Regions from separate parts of the Homo sapiens genome. Here regions 2 and 3 are each linked to region 1. The links are contacts of gene promoters, found by promoter capture Hi-C in blood cells and fetal thymus (Javierre and others, 2016). All regions are on one chromosome and are shown on one strand. Each heading gives the region's core, a stretch centred on a gene start or on the middle of the fragment in contact. The rest is flanking DNA. Distances are from core to core; before and after follow the strand shown. Region 1 holds the start of DYNC1LI2 (dynein cytoplasmic 1 light intermediate chain 2). Region 2 holds the start of WWP2 (WW domain containing E3 ubiquitin protein ligase 2). Region 3 overlaps SF3B3 (splicing factor 3b subunit 3).

The links. The method cuts DNA at HindIII sites, captures the fragments that hold promoters and counts their contacts. A CHiCAGO score of 5 or more calls a contact.
Region 2: a contact is called between the fragment with the promoter of WWP2 here and the fragment with the promoter of DYNC1LI2 in region 1, in 5 of 17 cell types (activated CD4 T cells, monocytes, non-activated CD4 T cells and 2 more). The highest score is 8.7, in activated CD4 T cells.
Region 3: a fragment that was not itself captured here is called in contact with the fragment with the promoter of DYNC1LI2 in region 1 in 5 of 17 cell types (naive CD8 T cells, total B cells, non-activated CD4 T cells and 2 more); the score reaches 7.8 in naive CD8 T cells.

The regions. Positions count from the first base shown.
Region 1 is chr16:66,749,701-66,753,821 of GRCh38, reverse strand. DYNC1LI2 (dynein cytoplasmic 1 light intermediate chain 2) reads left to right here and starts at 2,213. Exons shown (of 13, transcript NM_006141.3): 1 at 2,213-2,337; 2 at 2,476-2,549. The coding sequence starts at 2,231. It overlaps DYNC1LI2-DT (DYNC1LI2 divergent transcript), which reads right to left and starts at 2,070. Exons shown (of 2, transcript NR_133569.1): 1 at 922-2,070; 2 at 1-826. RefSeq lists an enhancer at 1,857-2,572 and a silencer at 1,786-2,585. The HindIII fragment of the contact is 3,643 bases long and covers 1,284-4,121 here.
Region 2 is chr16:69,760,825-69,764,865 of GRCh38, reverse strand. It overlaps WWP2 (WW domain containing E3 ubiquitin protein ligase 2), which reads right to left and starts at 2,534. Exons shown (of 24, transcript NM_001270454.2): 1 at 2,475-2,534. RefSeq lists silencers at 2,058-2,107, 2,128-2,287, 2,308-2,447 and an enhancer at 2,151-2,729. The HindIII fragment of the contact is 2,162 bases long and covers 971-3,132 here.
Region 3 is chr16:70,530,037-70,534,470 of GRCh38, reverse strand. SF3B3 (splicing factor 3b subunit 3) reads right to left here. Exons shown (of 26, transcript NM_012426.5): 4 at 3,554-3,726; 5 at 1,851-1,992. Among named protein-coding and RNA genes, the nearest start is that of SNORD111B, 2.8 kb to the right of the region's middle. The HindIII fragment of the contact is 1,417 bases long and covers 1,321-2,737 here.

The DNA.
Region 1 (4,121 bases), core at 964-3,463:
TAAGATGTTTCTTGGCATTCTACATGACCAACTCTTAGATTATAGTTAATACAGTAATGACGTTTAGATTATCATTTTTATTTCAAATAATTTCCTATCCTATTCCTATGCATTTTTAAATTAAATTTTACTTTATTTGACAGTCTTACTCTGTCGCCCAGGCTAGAGTGCAGTGGTGTGATCTCAACTCCCTGCAGCCTCTGTCTCCTGGGTTCAAGCAATTATCGTGCTTCAGCCTCCCAGGCAGCTGGGATTACAGGCGGATGCCACCATTCCTGGCTAATTTTTTTTTTTTTTTTTTGTATTTTTAGTAGAGACGGGGTTTGGCCATGTTGGACAGGCTGGTCTGGAACTCCTGACCTCAAGTGATCCGCCAGCCTCGGCCTCCCAAAGTGCCGGGATTACAGGTGTGAGCCACCGTACCTGGCCTTCCTATGCTTTTTTGTTAAACTCTTCCACAGGACTTTAATAGTTCCTGCTAAATTTCAACTTGTTAGATTTAGTCTCTGCTCAGTTTGTCATGCAGTAGATAAGGCAACCCTTCCTGCTTCAGGTCATCCACAACTTCCATGACTGCTGCTGTATTCTTATCCAAGTCACTGATGGCACCCTGAATTGGCTGGCCAGGGCAGGAGGTTTGGGCAGGCCCCTAGCAGCCTCATCTGCTGGTCCCTCCTCTTCATCAGCCACCTCTGGGCTAGTCTTTAATAAGCCTCAGTGCTATCATCCAGCATTGATTTCACTTTCGCATCTAAGATGTGAATTGTCAAATGCCCTGTTGAAATCTGCATTTGCTGTATCTGCAGCATCCGCCTACCTGGTACTCCTGCAAAAAAGAAAGATACTGTGTAAATCTGGTATTCTCTTTTCCTTTAGTGTTTAATCACAAAATTTCACTTAGTGCTGATTAAGCTCACTGGCCTGTAATTTTCATCTCCATCTTCTGTCCTGTGAAAATTCAGCACTGCTTGCCCTTTTAGGACTTCTGGCACTTTGCCTGATTTTCCCAGATTTCCAAGGGAGGAACTCAGTGGGTTTTCACTCTCGTCTTGTTTAAACCTTACATCCAGTTTGGCAGATGATATGCCCATTTGTTTTATCCCGTAATTCATGCCGCCAGATTTTTTGGCATCAGGATCACAATCCTACTCATCTGAAACCTACTTAGGTGGTGCTTTTCTGCCACATTCCACTTCCTTGTGATATTTAGAAATGTCTTGTTAGCCTGTTTCCATAGAGAATGGCAAGAGCCCTCAAGTAGAGGCCACACCTAAAATTAAGCTTGATAATGGAATGTATGTTTTTCCTTCGGTTACTCTCCGCTCTTTCCCTTTTCCATCCCCTTTCCTTTTATTTTTCTCCCCGCTCTGCACCTGCCAGCTGGCCCCCAAGGAAATTAAGGGCTCCTCTTCTGGTGTGAAATGCTGGCTCCCTGAAAACATCATTTTAAAAAGCATGTTAATAAAGCAAAGCCAAGTGTATTATGCACTGCGGTCAAGAGCACTACTTCACAGTCTTTAGTCTTCGGAGGAGGAGGGGGAAATGCAGGATATTTATGAGGATTCTGGGGTCTTCCTTAAGGCTAGTCTTTCAATGCAGGGCTTGAGTAGGGTTAGGCCAAGTTCATGATATAATGGTCCAAGGTTGGGGAATAAATTAGAAGTACCGAATGTTATCTTCTAGCCTTGGGTCCTTGGGTGGGTTTCTTAAATTTTTTGAGCTTCAGGTTCCTCATCTGTGAAAGGGTTAGATAAGATTCAGTGAGATAATGTGTGACTCTGGCACATGGTGAGCTCTAGATAAATGGCGCTTTTGTGTCCATCAGTCTCATTCCCAAAGCCTAGGCTTTCGGGTCGGTCATCCGGCTGCCCGACCCGCGACGGCGCAGGGGAATCGGCGAGCGTGGCGGGGTGCTGCGCTGCGCCCCTCAGCCGGCAGAGGCCGCCAGCGCGCCCTCGGTCCGGACGGTGCCCGCCCCTGCCACCGCCTCCCCGCGCATGGCTGCCCCGGCGGCTGCCTGACCGCCGCCCGCCACCTCGGCGGCCTCGCAACCCGTGGGAGCCCGTGGCCATCGCAGACCTAGAGGACACGTTGGGCGGCGCAGTCGCCGCGGCAAGGTCGGCGGGCGGCGCGGCGCGAGGGACGGCGAGCGGGGGGCGGCCCGGCCCGGGTCCTCGCGGGTCCTCGGCGGGCCCGGGGGAGGGCCCTCTTTGTGGCTGCAGTTGGCAAGATGGCGCCGGTGGGGGTGGAGAAGAAGCTGCTGCTAGGTCCCAACGGGCCCGCGGTGGCGGCCGCCGGCGACCTGACCAGTGAGGAGGAGGAAGGCCAGAGCCTATGGTGAGGCCGCGGGCGGTCGGGCCGGGCCGTGGGGGGCGCGGCCTCTGGGCCGGACCGTCGGACACACTGAGGGGCCGACGCGAGCCGGGCCATCCCAGCCCGGCCCGGGGCTGACCACTCTTGCCATTGTCGCCACAGGTCCTCCATTCTGAGCGAAGTGTCCACCCGCGCCAGGTCCAAGCTGCCGTCCGGCAAGAACATCCTGGTCTTCGGTGAGCGCCGGCGGCGGGGCGTTGCCCCAGGTCGCTGGGGTGGGCGAGGCGGGCGCCCCTCCCTCAGGTCCCCGCCTTCCCCGTTCCAGCCGCCTGCCCGCAGCCTGGCGGGAAAGGGACCGTCGGCCCTGGCCGGTCAGCTGGAGAGTGGTCAAGCCTCCAGCGCCTGAGGGTGGGATGCTGCCCTCTTTGGAGAGCGTAGTGGTGCTTTGGGGTTGTCGGCATATTGTTTCAGTCACTTGGCCCTCTATGCCTTCATTGCCTCGACGGTTACCAAATTGAGGTCGTGGAGAGGGGAAGCTAGTAGATGAGATTAGGTGGAGAAGGTGGGAGAACGAGGTGACCTGGGCTCGGAGCTGTGGGGAAATGACCACGGGAGCCTTCTTTGAGCCTCATCAGTAGTGCATAGTCCGAGGTTTTAGGGACTTTGCAGAGGACAGAGAGTCAGCACTGGGGACGTTTCCTCCATTATGCTAGCCCTCACTGCTAGGTTACCTGAGTCAGGTCCCTTACTCCCTCTGGCCTCACTCTCCTCAAGTGAGGGAGTTTGGGTACATTCACACAGCAAGTCCATTTGTTGCTTGGGACCTGTGGGCTGGGCACAGGCTCAGCATAGGCGACTCTTAAACACTATAGAAGAATCTCAGTCTGGTGGAAGACAGATGTATTGGTGATTGCATTGCACCATGCCGATTATTGTGGAAGCATTACACTGCTTAGAGCTGGTGAAGGAGGATGATTCGGGGGTTGAGTATTTTGCAGAAAAGTGTCAGTATGCAGGGACACAGATGACAAGAGGGTGTGGGGTTTGGAAACTGCTAGAAGCGCCTTGTGGTTGGTGGCTGCTAAGGTAAGTTGGGGGCAGATTGTGGGAAGGCTGAAGAGTTAGTGCTGTTTCCTGAAGTTCTCTGATTTTTCAAATGGCTTTTATCTCACCTCCATCCCCCAATTCCCATGGGAATCACTGCCTTGGTAGTTTTCCTACTGTTAGAATGTGTGACCTTTCTCAGGAATTGACTGTGGTAGGTAATACCGGACCCTTAGAGATCTTCAAGAAGTGGGGGATCAAGATCACCAGATCTGAGTTTTAGAAAGAACGCTGCCTGCAGAGGGACAGTAGCTCAAAATGAGCAGGTACTGAAGTCAGGCTGACAGGTCCTCACCTTGGTCTGGATGCAGAGGGCCTGAATAAGGTAGAGGCATTGGAGATGGAGAGGAGGTCTTTGATCTGTGGACTGACTGCCTTTCAATTCTCATGTTCTGTAATTCCATATTATTAAATGGCAGAAGTGCCTAGTAATGTTTGGCGATGGTTCTCCTTGATGTTTAAGGATCCGGGGAAGGGGGGTGTTGTTTGGGTGGAGGGAGATGAAGAAGTGCTTAATAATTAACTGAGATTGTACTGAAGAGTTTTGCTAGGTCTATAATTATTTTCGTCAGTTTCTTAGCCTTCAGAATGTTTGTGAAGGAGATGTACTAAAATCAAAAGTGAATAACTTCCATTCTTCACCATTGTGAAGCAGGATCAGACTTTTTTTAGTTCACAGTACCTGGACTTTTAGGTTAATTGTA
Region 2 (4,041 bases), core at 1,285-3,784, 3.0 Mb before region 1:
GTTTATACATTATATGATCGTTTACTATAACATAAAAAGTATCAATGAGACATTTTACTTTTCTTCATGCTAAGTCTTCAAAATCCAGAATGTATTTTATGCTCACAGCATAGCTCCAGTGCTCAGCAGCCCCATGTGGCTAGTGTACACCATACTGGACTCTACAACAATGCCTGGCAAAGACAGAGTGGGTACTTATAAATATTCACTGAATGAAAGAATGTTTTCCCAGGAAGAGGAAGCTATGGTAGAGTACAGCGTTTTCTAAACTTCATTTACTCACATTCTACATTCACAACTTTTTCTGTGTGATCTTTTTCCTTAAAATGTTACACTTTTTATTCCTGAAAAATTATGTAAAAATAAAACTTTCAGTTGGGCATGGTGACTTACACCTGTAATTGCAACACTTTGAGAGGCCGAGGTGGGAGGATCGCTTGAGCCCCGGAGTTTGAAAACAGCCCGGGCAACATAGCAAAACCCCTGTCTCTACAAAAATTAGCCAGGCGAGGTGGCACCCACCTGTAGTCCCAGCTGTTTGGGAGGCAGACATGGGAGGATCACCCGAGCCCAGGCAGGTCAAGGTTACAGTGAGCCGTGATTGTGCCACTGCACTCCAGCCTGGGCAACAGAGTAAGATCCTGTCTCAAAATAAAATAAAAATAAAATTTTCTATTGTGTCAATAAATGAAAAAGAATGGATCTAAGGATTAAGGGTCTGGGCTTGAGTCCCTACTCATTTACTAGCTCTGAAATCTAAAGTAAGGACTTCATTAAGCCTCAGTCTCTTCATGTGATATAGGGACAATACTGACCATCCCAATTTCAAAGGGAAGGTTAAGTGAGATGTTGGTATACGCTCTTTGTAAATGGGAAAGTAATCATGAAGTGAAAGAGACTGAGAAGCCAATCCAAGCCTTTCTCTCGAGCCTGTTTTCATATGGACCAATGACACAGATAATCACAAGCTTCTCTGACAAGAAAAAGAGTAGAAGACTTGGGTTCAAATCCTTTGTCACCACTTACGCCGGTGTGACTTTTAGAAATGCATTTATTCACCAAATATTTATCAAGTGCTCACAACATGCCAGGCACTAGGCTAGCAGCCAAATAAAATATGAAACCTGCCCTTGAAGGATTTGCAATCTAGCAGGAAGAGGCCAGCAAACAAGAAAGAGCAATAAATTGTTTTAAAAAATCAAGTCGTCTCTCGTAAGTCTGTTTGTTCCCTGTGAAATGAGAATACATCTTCCCAACCTCACTCATAGGCGCTGCTGCAAAAACTAATTTTTAAATGTTTGTCAAATAACTCCAAAAACTTGAACTCATAATACATTAGGAAAGTACTTTTTCCTACTTGTAACCCAAAACGATGCTGGCTGCTGTGAATGTCCAGTTTGAACATTCGTTCCAGTTACACTGCACTCATGAAACTCCTTTTGCTTCTGCAAATTTTAGTAAACATGAGAAACAGGAAGATGAACAGGCTTTAACACAAGTATTCAATCTCAAAATCATGATCCAGGTCACAGTTCTAAGGAACATAACACAGACCTCTCAGGCACCCTACCTAGTTACAGTTCGTCAAGATAAGCAGTCACAAGATAAGCTAAGGGAAACTGAATAATTTAAACGGAAGAAAGAGAAAAGTCATAAAGCAGTCTAGGTAGACACTTCTCTGTCCAAGATTTCAGCAGTCACTATGTTGCTGAGGTAACGCTGGGCTAGGTCAACAGTGTAAGCTAAAAGCCATTTTACAGGCAAAGTGCCCACACTTATTTTTTTAATTTATTTTCTTTTTTTGTTTTTTAAAGCCTCGATGATGGCCCGTTCAGGGAAAATCTCAAAGAAAAATGAGCTGAAGGGCTAGGCTCCCAAGAAGTGGAAACCCTACCCACGCAGGACTAAGTGGGCGCGAGGGAAGCAAGACGATCAAGATTCTGTGATCCCTCCTGAAGTTTAAAAACTGAATGGGACCGTCATCAAAGTCTCGGGTAACAATCATTTCCAAACAGGAAGGAAGGGAGAGACTCTCAGAGGGGGTCCAGGCAGCATCTTTTTCCCTCTGGCTCCACGCCATAAACCCATTTTCAGGCACCCCCTTCCAGCTCAGTTCCAAGTCGCCCCTTCCCCTGGTCCCGATCCCTCCACAAAGATCGCTCCTCTCCATGCCTGGGAACCTAAGCTCCTCTCCCCTTCCGGGAGGACTCGCTCCAGCTGCACCCTTGGCGGCCGGGGCACCCATTTCGGAGCAACCCCCGCGCGGGCCGCGGCGCGCCCACCCCACTCGGGCGGGAGCCGGGACACCCCTCCTCGGAGGCCGGAACCGCCGCGCCAGGCCCCTCCCACAGGAAGCCGCCGCCCCCCGACGCCCGGGCCGCGCCGCCCCCGGCCCACCCCGCGCCGCCCGCCGCCCCCGGCCCGCCCCGTGCAGGCAGCCAGCCCACCGCGCCCCCCGCGCCAGCGCTCGCTACCTGCCGTGGCCACAGAAGCGGCGCCGAACTCCTCTCCTACTTCCGCCTTCCACCGCCCGCACTCGGGCCGGGTCACGTGACCGCGCGCGGTCACCTGACCCGGAAGAGGCTGGCCAGGCTCGCAGGTGCGGGCCACCTAGGCCTGGCCTGGGCACCTCTGGCCTCGAGGAGGCCTTTTTATCGTCTCTGTAGTTGAAAGTGGAAGGGTTTCTGCTCACCGGATGGTCCCAGGCAATCAAATAAATTGAGGGCTCACTGAATGCCACCTACTCTGCCCATCAACCTTATAGAGGCAGGGACAGGTACTAGCCCCATTTTACAGGTGAAACGAGACCTTCAGACTGTTAAGTCAGCAAATACTTAATTGAGCTCCTTTAGTAGGGTTGCCAGATAAAGTACAGGACACCCACTTAAATTTGAATTTCAGATAAACAACAGTGTAATATGTATGTCCCAAATACAGAATGGGACATATTTATACTAAAAAAAGTATTTTTTGATTATCTGAAGATCAAATTGAATTGAGTATCTGTATTTCTATTTCCTGGCAACCTTATGCCTATTATGTGCCAGGCACTGTTCTAAGATCCAGGACCACAAACATCTCAGCCTTTGTGGGGCATCTGTCCTTGTGACATGAAGCAAAAGTACAAAAGCTTAAAAACTCCTGCTTGGCTCCATAAAAAGCCCCTCCACACTAATCCAATCGCATTCCCTTAATCTACAACTACAGGGCACAGAGAACTTAATGAATTATAATCCAGGTAGGTAGGTAGGTAGGTAGGTGGATAGATAGATGATATTTTTTTTTTTTTTTTTGAGATGGAGCCTCGCTCTGTCGCCCAGGCTGGAGTGCAGTGGTGCAGTCTCAGCTGACTGCAACCTCCGTCTCGCCGGTTCATGCAATTCTCCTGCCTCAGCCTCCCGAGTAGCTGGGATTACAGGCGTGCACCACCACGCCTGGCTAATTTTTGCATTTTTAGTAGAGACAGGGTTCCTCCATGTTGACCAGTCTGGTCTCGAACACCTGACTTCAAATGATCCGCCCACCTTGGCCTCCCAAAGTGCTGGGATTACAGGCATGAACCACCGCACCTGGCAGAGAAATATTTTTTTTAAGAGATGGGTCTGGATAGGTTGCTTTGGCTGGGCTCGAACTCCCAGCTTCAAGCAGTCCTCTTGCTTCAGCCTCCCAAGTAGCTGAGACTACAGGCGAATGCCACTGTGCCTGCCCAATAACTTTATTTATTTATTTATTTATTTATTTATTTGCTTGCTTGAGACAGAGTTTCACTCTTGTAGCCCAGGCAGGAGTGCAGTGGCTCAATCTTGGCTCACTGCAACCTCTGCCTCCCAGGTTCAAGCAATTCTCCTTCCTCAGCCTCCTGAGTAGCTGGGACTACAGGCACCCACCACCATGCCTGGCTAATTTTTGTATTTTTAATAGAGATGGGGTTTCACCATGTTGGCCAGGCTGGTCTCAAACTCCTAACCTCAGATGATCCACCTGCCTTGGCCTCCCAAAGTGCTCAGATTATAGGCGTGAGCCAATGCGCCCGGCCTCCAA
Region 3 (4,434 bases), core at 780-3,279, 3.8 Mb before region 1:
TAATGTCCTCATCAGTCTCCCCTCTTACAGTCTTAATATCCTCCATTTCATTAGCCAAAATGTAAGCAATTAATCTTTCTAAGGTTGTCAACCTATCAGATTATTTCCCTACTTAGAATCCTTCAGTAGCTTTCACCCCACCCCTACTCCTACCCCAGTCCCTTAATAATTAAATCATAATGAGCTTTTAATTATTTGAATGGACCATGTTATTTCTTGTATTTAGGCTTTTGTAAATGCTGTTCCCTTTGCCTACAACTGAAACTTCCTCTCCCACTCCAACTGCACCTAGCTAACTTCTAACTAGCCCTCAGATCTCAGCTTAGAGACTCCAGCAAGCTTTCTGTAACACATTCGTTTCCTTTCCCTGTTTAGGGAACCTCTTCTCTGTGCTGTCATGGCATTTGGCACAGTTTCTGGTAATTGTTTTGGTTATTTATCTGTATTCACCACCAGACTCAATCTTGCACAAAGGCGGCACCACGTCTAATTTTTCACCACTGAAGTCCCAAGATCCAGCAGACTGACTTAGCACATACTGACTGCAAAGGCTCAATAAAAATGTGTTGAAAGAATGAAAAAGCCCTTGTAAATGAAAGGTATGGTAATATGTTACAAGTAATGAGATGTGTGATCAAAAATTCATCTGCTTAACGTATTAACAAAGGTAAGTGCTGTCCTTTATTTTTATTCTCCAGTATCTTCCCCAAACAACATCTTATTTTAGACATCAGTTGAAGTGCAAATGATTCAAAATAGAACTAGATCAGTTTTCCCCAAGCCTGCTGAAATGCAGATGACCACAAATGTAGCTGTACTCATTTAGTCTTTTAATATAATCAATTAGTAACGTGTATTTTCCAATGGTGAACTGATTTCCAACCATGAAAATATTTTCCATTTTTTAGCTCCTCCAAAAACGTTACTTAGCTATGTGCATTTAAAACACTGAATCTGATTTGCTGGAATGTTAGCTTTTCCTATCTACAACCGTATGAACTAGCCTGCAAATTTTTTTTGTTACTGTCCATCCCTAGTTTTGATACTGTAGTCATACTAGACTCAGAGAGCGGCACAGTAGCATTTACTCTTTTTCTACTCTAGAGAAATCTGTTTTACTTTTTTTTTTAATATTTACTTTTTCATTGAGACAAGATCTCACCTTGTTTCCCAGGATGGTCTCAAACTCCTGAGATCAAGTGATGCTCCTGCCTCAGCCTCCTAAAGTGCTAGGGTTATAGGCGTGAGCCACCATGCCCAGCCGAGAAACTTGTTTTAAAACGGAATACATATATGTCCCTCAACAAGAAGATAAAAGCTTTCCTGAAAATCCTGGACCTCAATCTTTTGGGAGAGTGACTTTGGACTACTGCTTCAATTTCTCTAACGCTGGTCTATTGAAGTTCTTAATTTATTTTTGGATCAATCTGGTAATCGTCTTCAAAAATATTTCTATTTTGTTTAAGTTTTCAAATTCACAAGTTCCATCTTGTGGGGTCTGTCCATTTTGTTTGGCTTTTGAAAGAGTTAGGTTTGAATGAGAGGCAAAGACTGACTACAGCCAAACTGTCACAGCAACTAACAGTAATCAATATTCCAAGCTGACTGCTCCCTTCAACTTCTCTTCCCTGCCCTCAGTAGAATATGAGTTATTAAGGAGCTAGGCAGTCTTTATCCCCAACACTTTTTAAAATCACTCCACCACATGAACTTCTAACCTGTCCAAAAGATAAGGTATTCAGGTTCACAACAAATGGATTAATTCCCAAACCCTTTAAGTAAAACCTATTAGGTTTGGGCATAAAATGAACCAAGTAAAAGGGTACAAAGCAGCTCTGAAAGAAAAGTACCTGTAATAAGGAAGTTGCCGTGTTCCTCCAAAGGTTCACTGTATTTTCGGACCACATGATTTAAACCAAGGTCTAGCTCATAGAAAGTAAGTGTCTGCTGGGTATTAGCTGCTGCTTCCCCTGTTGGATCATTGTCTGCTTCCTACAGAGAATAGTGGCATAAAAACTAATCATCAGCATAAAATCGAAGATCTGGAAAGGACATCAGGACTCCAATTTACAAATGAGGAAACAGAAGTCCACAAATGTCTTCTTTTTTTTTTGGAGAGACAGGTTCTCACTATGTCACCCAGGCTGCAGTGCACAGAGGTATGATCTTTTTTTTTTTTTGAGACGGAGTTTTGCTCGTTGCCCAGGCTGGAGTGCAATGGCACGATCTCAGCTCACCACAACCTCCACCTCCCAGGTTCAAGTGATTCTCCTGCCTCAGCCTCCCGAGTTGCTGGGATTACAAGCATGTGCCACCACGCCTGGCTAATTTTGTATTTTTAGTAGAGATGGGGTTTCTCCATGTTGGTCAGGCTGGTCTCGAACTCCTGACCTCAGGTGATCTGCCCGCCTCGGCCTCCCAAACTTGGATTACAGGCGTGAGCCACTGTACACGACTGCAGTGGTACAATCTTATCTCACTGCAGCCTAGAATTCCTGGGCCTCAGGCTCCCAAGCAGCTAGGACTATAGGCACATGCCACCACACCTGGCTGACGCCAAATAGTTTGACAAAGTTTATGCTATAAGATAATGGCAGAGCTAGAACGAGAACTGCAATCTCCAAATTCTGGATCCAGGGAGCTCTCTACTAGAGGATACTGCCTTCCGTTAAAGGAAAACAATAGTATGTTCTGTGAAAAAATACCTTAAACATAGCTTCAAGTTTTTCATGAAGCTTTTCCCAATAAATATCTTGTTTCCATAGGGAGATTACTTAAATCAGAGAAAGACTATTAAATAGTTGCTTAACCTCTGAAGCATCCCAAAGAATTTCAGTAAGGCATTTGGAATATGAAGATCTGCTAGCAGGACAGAATTAAGATATGCATAAGGGGCTGGGCCTGGGTGAGGTGGCTCAGGCCTTATAATCCCAGCACTCTGGAAGGCTGAGGTGGGCCAATCACCTGGGGTCAGAAGACCAGCCTGGCCAACATAGTGAAACCCCATCTCTACTAAAAATACAAAAATTAGCTGGGCGTTGTGGCAGCACCTGTAGTCCCAGCTACTCAGGAGGCTGAGGCAGAGGTTGCAGCGAGCTGAGATTGTGCCACTGCACCCCAGCCTGGGCAACAGAGCAAGACTGTCTCAAAAAAAAGAAAAAAAGGTATGCACAAGGAAGAAAACGATCTTTTCGTTTTTTTTTGAGATGGAGTCTCACTCTGTCGCCCAGGCTGGAGTGCAGTGGCGAGATCTCGGCTCACTGCAAGCTCCACCTCCCGGGTTCACGCCATTCTCCTGCCTCAGCTTCCCGAGTAGCTGGACCACAGGCGCCCGCCACGATGCCCGGCTATTTTCTTTTTGTATTTTTAGTAGAGATGGGGTTTCACTGTGTTAGCCAGAATGGTCTCGATCTCCTGACCTCATGATCCGCCAGCCTTGCCTCCCAAAGTGCTGGGATTACAGGCGTGAGCCACCACGCCCGGCCGGAAAACAATCTTAAAAAAAAACACTGAGGTGACTGAAAGAAACGCAAAGAGACAGGGTCCCCATTACCTCATAATCCATTTCCAGACAAGCAAACATTGGATTTTCAAATCCGACATCTACTCCAACTACATGATACACTAAAGTGTTTGCTTTGTGGGCTTCCAGGGGAGATGAAATGGTAAGTCGGGCTGCAGCATCTCTGTTCAAAATATACACCAATTTCTGTTTCTCAATGGCACCTGTAGTTGAAGGAGATAAAACATACAAGATTCCCAGATAATGAGAAGAGAGACTTATAGAACAGCTAGAGTCACATCATGCTTTTCTTTTAATCATTATTAACAGCAGTAACTCTACAAGTATAAAAACTCAGGATTCTGTTTTCTATCATCAGAATAGCACTTTGGGAGGCTGAGGTGGGTGGATCACCTGAGGTCAGGAGTTCAAGACCAGCCTGACTAACACAGTAAAACCTTGTCTCTACTAAATACAAAAAATTAGCTAGGTGTGGTGGTGCATGCCTCTAATCCCAGCTACTTGGGAGGCTGGGGCAGGAGAATTGCTTGAACCTGAGACGCAAAGGTTGCAGTGAGCTGAGATCGCACCACTGCACTCCAGCCTGGGCAACAAGTGCGAAACTCTGCCTCATTTGAAAAAAAAAAAAAAAAAGAATAGACAATAGTGGAGCTGGGCACAGTGGCTCAAGTCTGTAATCCCAGCACTTTGGGAGGCCAAGACAGAAGGAAGGATTGCTTGAGCCCAGGAATTCAAGACCATCCTGGGCAGCATTGTGAGATCCCCATCTCTCTCTTATTTATTTATTTATTTATTTATTTATTTATTTATTTATTTATTTTTGAGATGCAGTCTCACTCTGTCGTCCGGGCTGGAGTGCAGTAGCGCTATCTCGGCTCACTGCAACCTTTGCCTCCCGGGTTCAAGCGATT